Regions from separate parts of the Homo sapiens genome. Here all the other regions are linked to region 1. The links are contacts of gene promoters, found by promoter capture Hi-C in blood cells and fetal thymus (Javierre and others, 2016). All regions are on one chromosome and are shown on one strand. Each heading gives the region's core, a stretch centred on a gene start or on the middle of the fragment in contact. The rest is flanking DNA. Distances are from core to core; before and after follow the strand shown. Region 1 holds the start of TYSND1 (trypsin like peroxisomal matrix peptidase 1). Region 2 overlaps EIF4EBP2 (eukaryotic translation initiation factor 4E binding protein 2). Region 3 overlaps EIF4EBP2 (eukaryotic translation initiation factor 4E binding protein 2).

The links. The method cuts DNA at HindIII sites, captures the fragments that hold promoters and counts their contacts. A CHiCAGO score of 5 or more calls a contact.
Region 2: a fragment that was not itself captured here is called in contact with the fragment with the promoter of TYSND1 in region 1 in 1 of 17 cell types (neutrophils); the score reaches 5.5 in neutrophils.
Region 3: a fragment that was not itself captured here is called in contact with the fragment with the promoter of TYSND1 in region 1 in 9 of 17 cell types (neutrophils, non-activated CD4 T cells, naive CD4 T cells and 6 more); the score reaches 10.8 in neutrophils.

What each region holds. Positions count from the first base shown.
Region 1 is chr10:70,145,199-70,148,072 of GRCh38, forward strand. TYSND1 (trypsin like peroxisomal matrix peptidase 1) reads right to left here and starts at 1,502. Exons shown (of 4, transcript NM_173555.4): 1 at 223-1,502. The coding sequence starts at 1,388. SAR1A (secretion associated Ras related GTPase 1A) reads right to left here. Exons shown (of 7, transcript NM_020150.5): 7 at 2,091-2,874. RefSeq lists silencers at 404-633, 964-1,273 and an enhancer at 764-813. The HindIII fragment of the contact is 18,251 bases long and covers 1-2,874 here.
Region 2 is chr10:70,426,866-70,429,739 of GRCh38, forward strand. EIF4EBP2 (eukaryotic translation initiation factor 4E binding protein 2) reads left to right here. Exons shown (of 3, transcript NM_004096.5): 3 at 1-1,753. Among named protein-coding and RNA genes, the nearest start is that of NODAL, 13 kb to the right of the region's middle. The HindIII fragment of the contact is 1,539 bases long and covers 733-2,271 here.
Region 3 is chr10:70,407,748-70,410,621 of GRCh38, forward strand. All of the region lies in intron 1 of EIF4EBP2 (eukaryotic translation initiation factor 4E binding protein 2), which reads left to right. Among named protein-coding and RNA genes, the nearest start is that of EIF4EBP2, 5.0 kb to the left of the region's middle. The HindIII fragment of the contact is 7,442 bases long and covers 1-2,874 here.

The sequences.
Region 1 (2,874 bases), core at 252-2,751:
CCCAAATCCAGAGCTGCTTCGAGCTTGACACCTTGCCCCAGATTCTCCCCACAGGGGTTCTGGGTATAAAGGATGAGGGGAGGGTTCCAGGTCTCTACCCACTACACGCCCAAAGCATCCGCGTGACACAAGAAAGGCCTGCACAATACTCAAGAGTATTAGGGCTGGACCCAGATCTGAGACCTGGAAAGGGATGAAGTGGCGTCAGCCCTGCGGGCTTACTTGGGGGTGGTGGAGCGCACCAGGACCCTGGCTGCTTCCCGAGGGGACACGTGCCGACAGGTCACTACAAGGCGGGGTGCCACAGCCACTCCGGAGCCCCATACGGTGCCGCACTCCACCAACACTGCCGCGGCTGCCCACAGGGGCCCGGAGTCTCGGAGGGGCAGACCCCACGGGACGCCCACCTCTGGCGGCAGAAGGGCGGCCAGGGCAGCGGTGCTGTGCGGCAGGCGGTGAAGCGCGTCGCGGGCGGCGCGGAAAAGGGGGGCGGCGGCGCAGAGCAGCGTGAAGCCCACCCATTCGCCGGCCTTCCAACAGAGCGGCGCCACCACCAGCGCCACCAGCGCCCCCGCGGGCCGCGCGGTGAACACGCCGCCGCCCTCGGTGCCGGGCAGGCAGCGTGCGTCGGTAAGCAGCAGTGGGCCGGCCACGTTGCTGAGCACCCCGCAGCTCAGCGTGTTGAGAAAGATGTCGGGGCAGAAGGCGCCGAAAGGGGAGCCGCAGACCAGCAATGGCGCACCCTTGGGCACGGCCCCGAGAGGCGACACCGCCATGGCTGGCCCGCGCTCCTCCTCCACCTCCTCCTGGCCTAGCCGCACGCCCAGCAGCGCAAACCAGCCCAGCGCTCTCAGTTGATCCGCCTCCTCGTCCTCCGACACTTCGTCATCCCGCGCCGCGCTCGAGAAGCGCCACTGTTCCGCTGCCTCGTCCCCGAAGAGGCGCGCGAAGTGGGCCCAGAAGGCCGGGCAGCTCAGCAGCAGCAGCAGCTCAGCAGGAAGCCGGGGCTGCAGGGGACGCCCGCGGGACGGGGCAGGTGGGCCGGGCTCGAGGCTCGCGCACTGGGGCGTGCACAGCCCTGGGCGGCCCCGCTCCGCGCCGCCCCCGGGACCCGCGGCCGTTGGGGCCCACTGCACGTGCAGGCGCAGGTCGTCCCTGCAACTGTCGCCAGGCAGGAAGACGGCGCCGGCCGCGGTCAGGACTTCGCTGCCAGCTCGCAGGAAGGGGACGAAGATGCCCCCGTGGCAAAGCACCAGGCCCGGGCTACGGCTCAGGATTACCCCGCTGCAGCTCCACGGGCCCGCCTCGGGCTGTCCGGCCCGGGAGGCGCTCACCATGCAGCCCGCCTGCTCGGCCGCCCTCATGGCAGACCCCCACTGCCTTCTCATGGCCTCTAGGCCGGACACTCGGGAGCTTCTCCGAGAAACAGCAAGCTAGCGAGCGAGGACCCCTACCCGGTCCGGCTGAAGCTGCCTAGCGCCACCCACAGCTGGAAGCGAGAGGCGCAAGCTCTGACTCACGTCTTCCTCATCGAGCCCGATTGGCTAAGCCCCAATTGACCCGACCCGATTGGCTGGGCTTGTACCGAGCTCTGATTGGCTTCCTATTCTGATTTTTTTTTTCCTTTCCCCGCCCTCGTTAGTTTGTCCAACCGGTGGGACATAATCTGCCCCATTCCCCCGGATGAGCCCCGGGGAGAGTAAGAGGAGTGCGGCGTCACGAGGAATCAGAGGAGAGGAGGGTGGGTCCCTTCAAGCCTAGTCTCGTTTGCTGGAATGTGGGAAAGGGAATAGAAATGAGCGCTGACGTGCCTAGATTTGCCCAGGCCACGACAGTACCTGTGAGCATCTGCCCAGGTCTAGGCGACCTTCAGCCTCTGACCCTTGGGATAATATGGACCAAGGAAATCCTTGGCCAATTCAGTGTTTTGAAAATTTAAAAGTAAACCCTATAGCAATCCACTAGGGGGCATGGAACTCTCAAGATTACTCCTAGGATTTTTTTTTGCTGCCAAAGCCCCAACACAAATCTCCGAGAAACTGGATTTGCTGTAAATTAAATTGCCCTTTAAATCGACTATGAACAGTAGCTGAAATCAAAAATTTTAATCATACAGGCCTATATTTTACAGTGTGCACATTTCACATAACATAACCACCAGCCAGGATTTATCTAGGCCAGGGTCCAAATACTTTCTGTAGAAGGCCAGAATGGAAACAGTTCCAGTTTGGGGGGACCATACAACTTGTCTCAAATAGTCAACTCTGCAGCTGTTGCATACAAAAGCTAAAGGAATGGCGGTGGCTGTGTCCCAATAAAAAGATACAGACATTGAAATTTTAATTTCATACAATTTTTTGTGTCCAAAAATAGCATTCTTTAAATATTTTTTCCAACCATTTAAATATGTAAAAACCTTTCTTTGCTCACAGGCCATACAAACACAGGCAGCAGGCCCGATTTGACCCACAAGGCATAGTTTACCATCTCTAGTGTACACTAACATAAACTGCTCTACTTTTCCAAAGAAGTACGCTTTAGGACAGAGGAGGATGAACGAGTATGTCGGGGAGTGGGGGGGCGCGGAGCTTCATGATACCCTCAATCAGTCACCACAAGCTAGACAGTTTACAAAGGTCTGCTTTATCACTGAATTGATAAAATACACATTATTTTTTATTTATTTATTTATTTTTTTGAGACGGAGTCTCGCTCTGTCGCCCAGGCTGGAGTGCAATGGTGCGATCTCCGCTCACTGCAAACTCCGCCTCCTGGGTTCACGCTATTCTCCTGCCTCAGCCTCCCCAGTCGCTGGGACTACAGGCGCCTGCCACCACGCCCAGCTAATTTTTTGTATTTTTAGTAGAGACGGGG
Region 2 (2,874 bases), core at 252-2,751, 280 kb after region 1:
CTTCATTCTCATTAGAATGCAGCCTGCTGAGTATGTGGGTTTCACTGCCGGAGTCCATCATTTAGCCAGTATACATAGAGGAACTGCTTCGAATCAAGGCAACTGGTGAAGGGCTTAGCATGTTGGCAGCAATATCCCAGAGATTGAATCTGTTTGCATTTTCCTCATCTAGGATAACAGCTGCTTGAAGCCAGGGCTCTTAGCCCTTTGCATTCCCCTTGAGCGAGGAAGCCACACTGCCTTTCTGTGTCTGGTTCAGAGCTCTTCCTTCTTGGCATGTTTTCTGGACTACATGCACATGGGCAGCTATAGATTAATCTGCAAAACCTAGTCACTTACCTACCCATAATATCTGGGAAGGTGTGGTATTTGTTTTAAAGAAACATTGTTTCTTTGGGAGGGCAGTTTCTGTCTGGACTTTGAGGTGGACTTAGTTATCCCTACAGTTCTTTAACTCTCAGCTTTTAATAAAAGATGAAATCAGATATTGATGCAGTTGGGTCACAATTCTTTAGAATGCTTCTACCCCAGGGCCGCTTCCTGTTCCTAGTCATGGTTTTCCAGTTTAGTAGTGGAGTTTCTTGAGGCTAACTTACAGAAATTTCTAACTGAAAACTTTAAGAGTTATTGATACTTGTTTTTTCAGTCAGTCACTTACATCACCTAGCCTACTCTCTGGAATTTAAATTTATTTCTCTAGGCTGGTCCTGGAAGTTGATAACCTTTTGGCAAAGCTTAGATTTAGGAGAAGGCTTGAGTCCCTGTTCAGCGGGTCTGTGGATTCTCTTTGCTTATGGCTCTCTGCCTGCAGCCCTGGCAGACCATACTGTATGTCATGGATACCCAGTGGAAATATTACTGAGATGAAACACATTTCCAAGGGTATTTAAACTCTCACTCTGCCACCTTTCTAAGGGTGGGAGGCTGGCAGAGATGCTGCAATGCTTGATAATCATTTGGCCACACTGAAATTTCCAAAGGGAGCTCTTGCCGGTGCTTAAAACCAAAACTCCTGGACACTTAGAAAATTCCATGAATCTAGCACAAAATATCCATTCTTGCCCAAGTGTATCCCCTTTCTCTCCAGCTTAATCTTTTTTTTTTTTTTTTTTTTAAAGCCCAGGCCAAGGGTACTTTTAACTGGAAACTGGGGAGGAGGGAAGAACACTAGCAGGGAGCTAAGAGGCAGGTTGCTGGGTAAGCCATCCTGCTCCTACCTGGTGCCTGTATCTACATTGCTGAGTGCTGTGCGCCAGTGCCTTTCCTTCATCTGCAGATGGAGCCCATCTCTTTCCACCTGGGTGAGGAGACCCTCTGCTACTCCAGGGGTAAACCTTAAAGAAGGTGTCTTGAAGAGCCCAGAGGACACTCACGTGCTAAGGTGTCCATTTTATGCATCTTTAAAATATTTTATTTAAAAAAAAAAATAGCCCTGCCCTGTCTTAGTGCCACTAACGGCCCAGTTCCATCCATTCTGAATGGAAAAGCGGAGACTGCCAGCACTTTCCTTGGTCTTCCCTTTGTCTCCCATGATGTGTTGTTCCCTCATCCCTCCCATCCATTTCACTGTGTGTGGATGGATAGCAGAGGGTACCACGCAGTCCTTGAGGCAGTCCTGTGTGATTCCATGATCAGTTGTTTTTGTATTTTAACTATTCTTCCAAACCAGCAGATGTTTGGAAATTAAGGAAAAAATTAAATTCTCATCAATGGTTGCTGTTATAGTTAAATCAGTAAAGATCTTGAGTATCAACTTGGTGTTTTAATTTTTTAAAAATTTCTGGTGAAATCCTGCTAAGGTTATTTCACATTTCAGGAGTTTCAGCTGGTGGGGGAGATGGGCAGAGGTAAGAGGCAGTTGGCTCTTTATCTGTCAGTTCTCCACACTTGCGGAGCATGCACTTTGTCAATGTGGACCTGTGTATGCAAAGGAGATGGTGGGACTCTCAGGGAGCATGACCCTGGTCCTGTGCTCAGGAGCTTGCAGGTGAACATGTATATGCTGGGCTGACGGCACCCAAGCATGTCCTTCTCTTAAGTGCCAGCCCTGAGGAAGCCCAAACAACTTTTCCTTTCTCAGAAGAGGGGCTGCCTGTGCCCCTGGGAGCACTGGTTAGATGCCCATCATGCCTGTTACCTCAAACCAAGCTGTGCTGCATGAGCGTCAGATTCCCTGCTGTTAACTAATCCAGCGGGTTTCATGTATTAGTCCTGAGAATGAGAATTCTTTCACGTGCACAGAGGTCCACAGAATAAAACTGGACTGGAGGAAGCTTTCCCATCGGAACTGTCTAGGGGTTTAGGGCACAGGCTTTGGAGTCAGGCAGCTTCAGTTCCAGCTGTGCTGCTTAGTAGCCAAATTACCCAGCAGAATTCTTATTCTACAAGCCTCAGTTTTCTCTAAAATAAGGTTAAGAAACAACTTTTCTAGGTGGTTGTCAGGCCCAGTTGATGTCATAAAGAGCCCAGTGCCTAGTATACTCAGCTCAGGAAACAGTATTTAAGGGACTCAAGCACAGCCCGGTTGACATGGACACCCAGAGATTATTCAGCCCCCTCTCCTCTTCCCTCCAAGTGTGTAAGTTTAGGAATGGAACAGGTTTGAGCACTGCAGCTACCACCTACTCATGGAACCTATAGAAGGACTAAAGGATCTCTTTAAGGGAAGATGGGACCAAAACCTTAAAAGCGCTTTCCTACATCCTTTACTCTGCCCTAAAGGCAATTAGGATAGGTAAGGATCTTACTGCTAATGAAGACTTTTTTTTTTTTGAGACTGAATCTTGCTCTGTTGCCCAGGCTGGAGTGCAGTGGTGCGACCTCGGCTCACTGTAACCCCCGCTTCCTGGGTTCAAGTGATTCTCCTGCCTCAGC
Region 3 (2,874 bases), core at 145-2,644, 260 kb after region 1:
TCCCAGACGGGGCGGCTGGCCGGGCAGAGGGGCTCCTCACTTCCCAGTAGGGGCGGCCGGGCAGAGGCACCCCTCACCTCCCAGATGGGGCGGCTGGCCGGGCGGGGGGCTGACCCCCCACCTCCCTCCCGGATGGGGCGGCTGGCCGGGCAGAGGGGCTCCTCACTTCCCAGTAGGAGCGGCCGGGCAGAGGCGCCCCTCACCTCCTGGACGGGGCGGCTGGCCGGGCGGGGGGCTGACCCCCCCACCTCCCTCCCGGACGGGGCGGCTGGCCGGGCGGGGGGCTGACCCCCCCACCTCCTTCCTGGACGGGGCGGCTGGCCGGGCAGAGGGCTCCTCACTTCCCAGTAGGGGCGGCCGGGCAGAGCGCCCCTCACCTCCCGGACGGGGCGGCTGGCCAGGCGGGGGGCTGACCCCCCCCACCTCCCTCCCGGACGGGGCGGCTGGCCGGGCGGGGGGCTGACCCCCCCACCTCCTTCCTGGACGGGGCGGCTGGCCGGGCACAGGGTCTCCTCACTTCCCAGTAGGGGCGGCCGGGCAGAGGCGCCCCTCACCTCCCGGACGGGGCGGCTTAGCCAGGATGGTCTTAATCTTCTGACCTCGTGATCTGCCCGCCTCGGCCTCCCAAAGTGCTGGGAGTACAGGCGTCAGCCACTGCGCCTGGCTGTAATCAGTGGATTTTTAACATGAGGGCTTATTTAATATCTTTATAAGGACATGGTGCCGTTGCAGTTGGATTTAATCACTATTACAGCAATGAATACTGTTTAGGTGTTCTTTACTTACTGATTTAACTTCCCCCTCTGACGGTTTGTGTATCTCTAATGCTACATTCATCTTCCTCTCATCATGTAATTTTATTTCCCTCAACCAGGGTGCAATAGTTTGTTATCTGGCCACCTCCAGACTCCTGGATTAATATGGTTAGGTATCGTTAGTAAATTTTGTGTGCCCAGGGGAGTGGTTCGCACAAAAGGGGACAACAGACAAAAGTAGGAAATACAGTCCTTGGTCTGAACAGGTTTAAATTCTTGATTTGGGGGTAGGGGCAGACAGATAAGATTTTTAGTTCTGAAAGAGTAGAGTCAAGTGCTAACATATATTTCAGACTTGAAAACATTTAGAAAAATGAGTGATAGGCTTGTATTGGAAATCTCTATTTAGTGGTAAGGGAGGGGATTAACATTTCCTGCCTCAAACTTCTAGAAATCTTCTGGAGGGTCACATACATGTCAGAGCATTCCAGCATAACAACAGTTGATGGACCGAATGCCCTAAATGATCAGACTGAGCAGGGACATTCACAGCATAGCAAACTTAGAGTTTCTCCCCCTTGAAGAGTTCTTTATTCATTGGGGATCACAGGAGATACAGCTTACCCTTGAGCTTTCTCAAAATTGTCTTTCTGTGGTTTGGGAAGTGAGAAGTGGGTGAAAACACACTTGCTGTAACCTCTTGGATTTCTCATATTGCTGGAAGAGTACCCTTTCTCCTTATGAAGGAAGAGGAAACTTTTTGTTGGGCAAATTCCAGGCCAAAAAAAAAGCTCTTGGATTTTATTTTTTTTTCTATCTGCCTGTGGAGGAGTGGGGATGATATTTGGTTCTTCCATTGAGAAGCTACCTCTGCCCTCAAAGGAAGGTAAAGTTACTATAGTTGGCTCCACTTTTAATAACACTAGTGACCTAGAAGAAACCTAATGCTTTCATTTTATTATTGAGAGAAATTGGGACCCAGAGAAGTTAAGTAACTTGTTAGTATTAAACAGCTAATTATTGTCCGTGAGTCCCTCAAATTTAGTATCCTGATCACTATTCCAGTTTTTTCCTCTACTGTTTTGAGATGCTTATCTTACTAGGAAAGGAAGTTTGCAAACATTTAAAGAGACTTTTCTACCTCTGGAATGCTAGCTAATATGATTCTTTCCGCTACCTTATTTCCTTTCTAGGTGCTGAACTGCCCCCTTTTAGAAGAGTTGTTTTGCTCTGCGGAATGAGCAGAAACAGAGACACCTCTTTTACCCTTTCTCTTTGCCTTTCTTTTCCTTCACAGAGTTCTCATCAGCCATGGAAAAGTATGCTGTTACCATAACAAGGGCAGCAGAGGGGAACTAACTGTGATGGTCTGAAATTTTGTCTGGGTTGTAGCTCTTCTGCCTCTTGGATAGTTGATATGATTGGTTCATTGGGACAGAATTTCATAAAGGTCATTGGATGGGTTTGGAAAAAAGGAGAAAGCAGGAAGAAGGGAAAATAATCCACTGGGAGTGAAAGTGAACTATACCAAAATAAAGAGTATTGGGGGTGAAGGGAGCTGCTTTTTTTTTTCTTTCTTTCTTTGAGACAGAGTTTCACTCTTGTTGCCCAGGCTGGAGTGCAATGGCGCCATCTTGGCTCACCGCAACCTCCGCCTCCTGGGTTCAAGTGATTCTCCTGCCTCAGCCTCCTGAGTAGCTGGGATTACGGGCGCCCACCACCACGCGTGGCTGATTTTTGTATTTTTAGTAGAGATGGGGTTTTACCATGTTGGCCAGGCTGGTCTCGAACTCCTGACCTCAAGTGATCCGCCCACCTCGGCCTCCCAGAGTGCTGGGATTGAACCACCATGCCCAGCCCTGTTTCTTTTGTTAAGATAAAAATTGTCTTTGTTGGTTTATTAGCACTTCAGAGATTTGATGGTTGTGCACAGTGAATGTGGTTTGGCCACCACCTGTCTCCCTGAAGAATACAGAGTTAGGCAGCTTTTAGTTTCCTCTGGGTTATTTGCCATAGAGCTTTTCAGGAGTCTGTCTCTTCATCCAGAGTCTCCATGAAGAACAGATGTTTAAAACTGAAGTTCATTCATGAATGTTCTATAACTCAGTCAATAAAACAT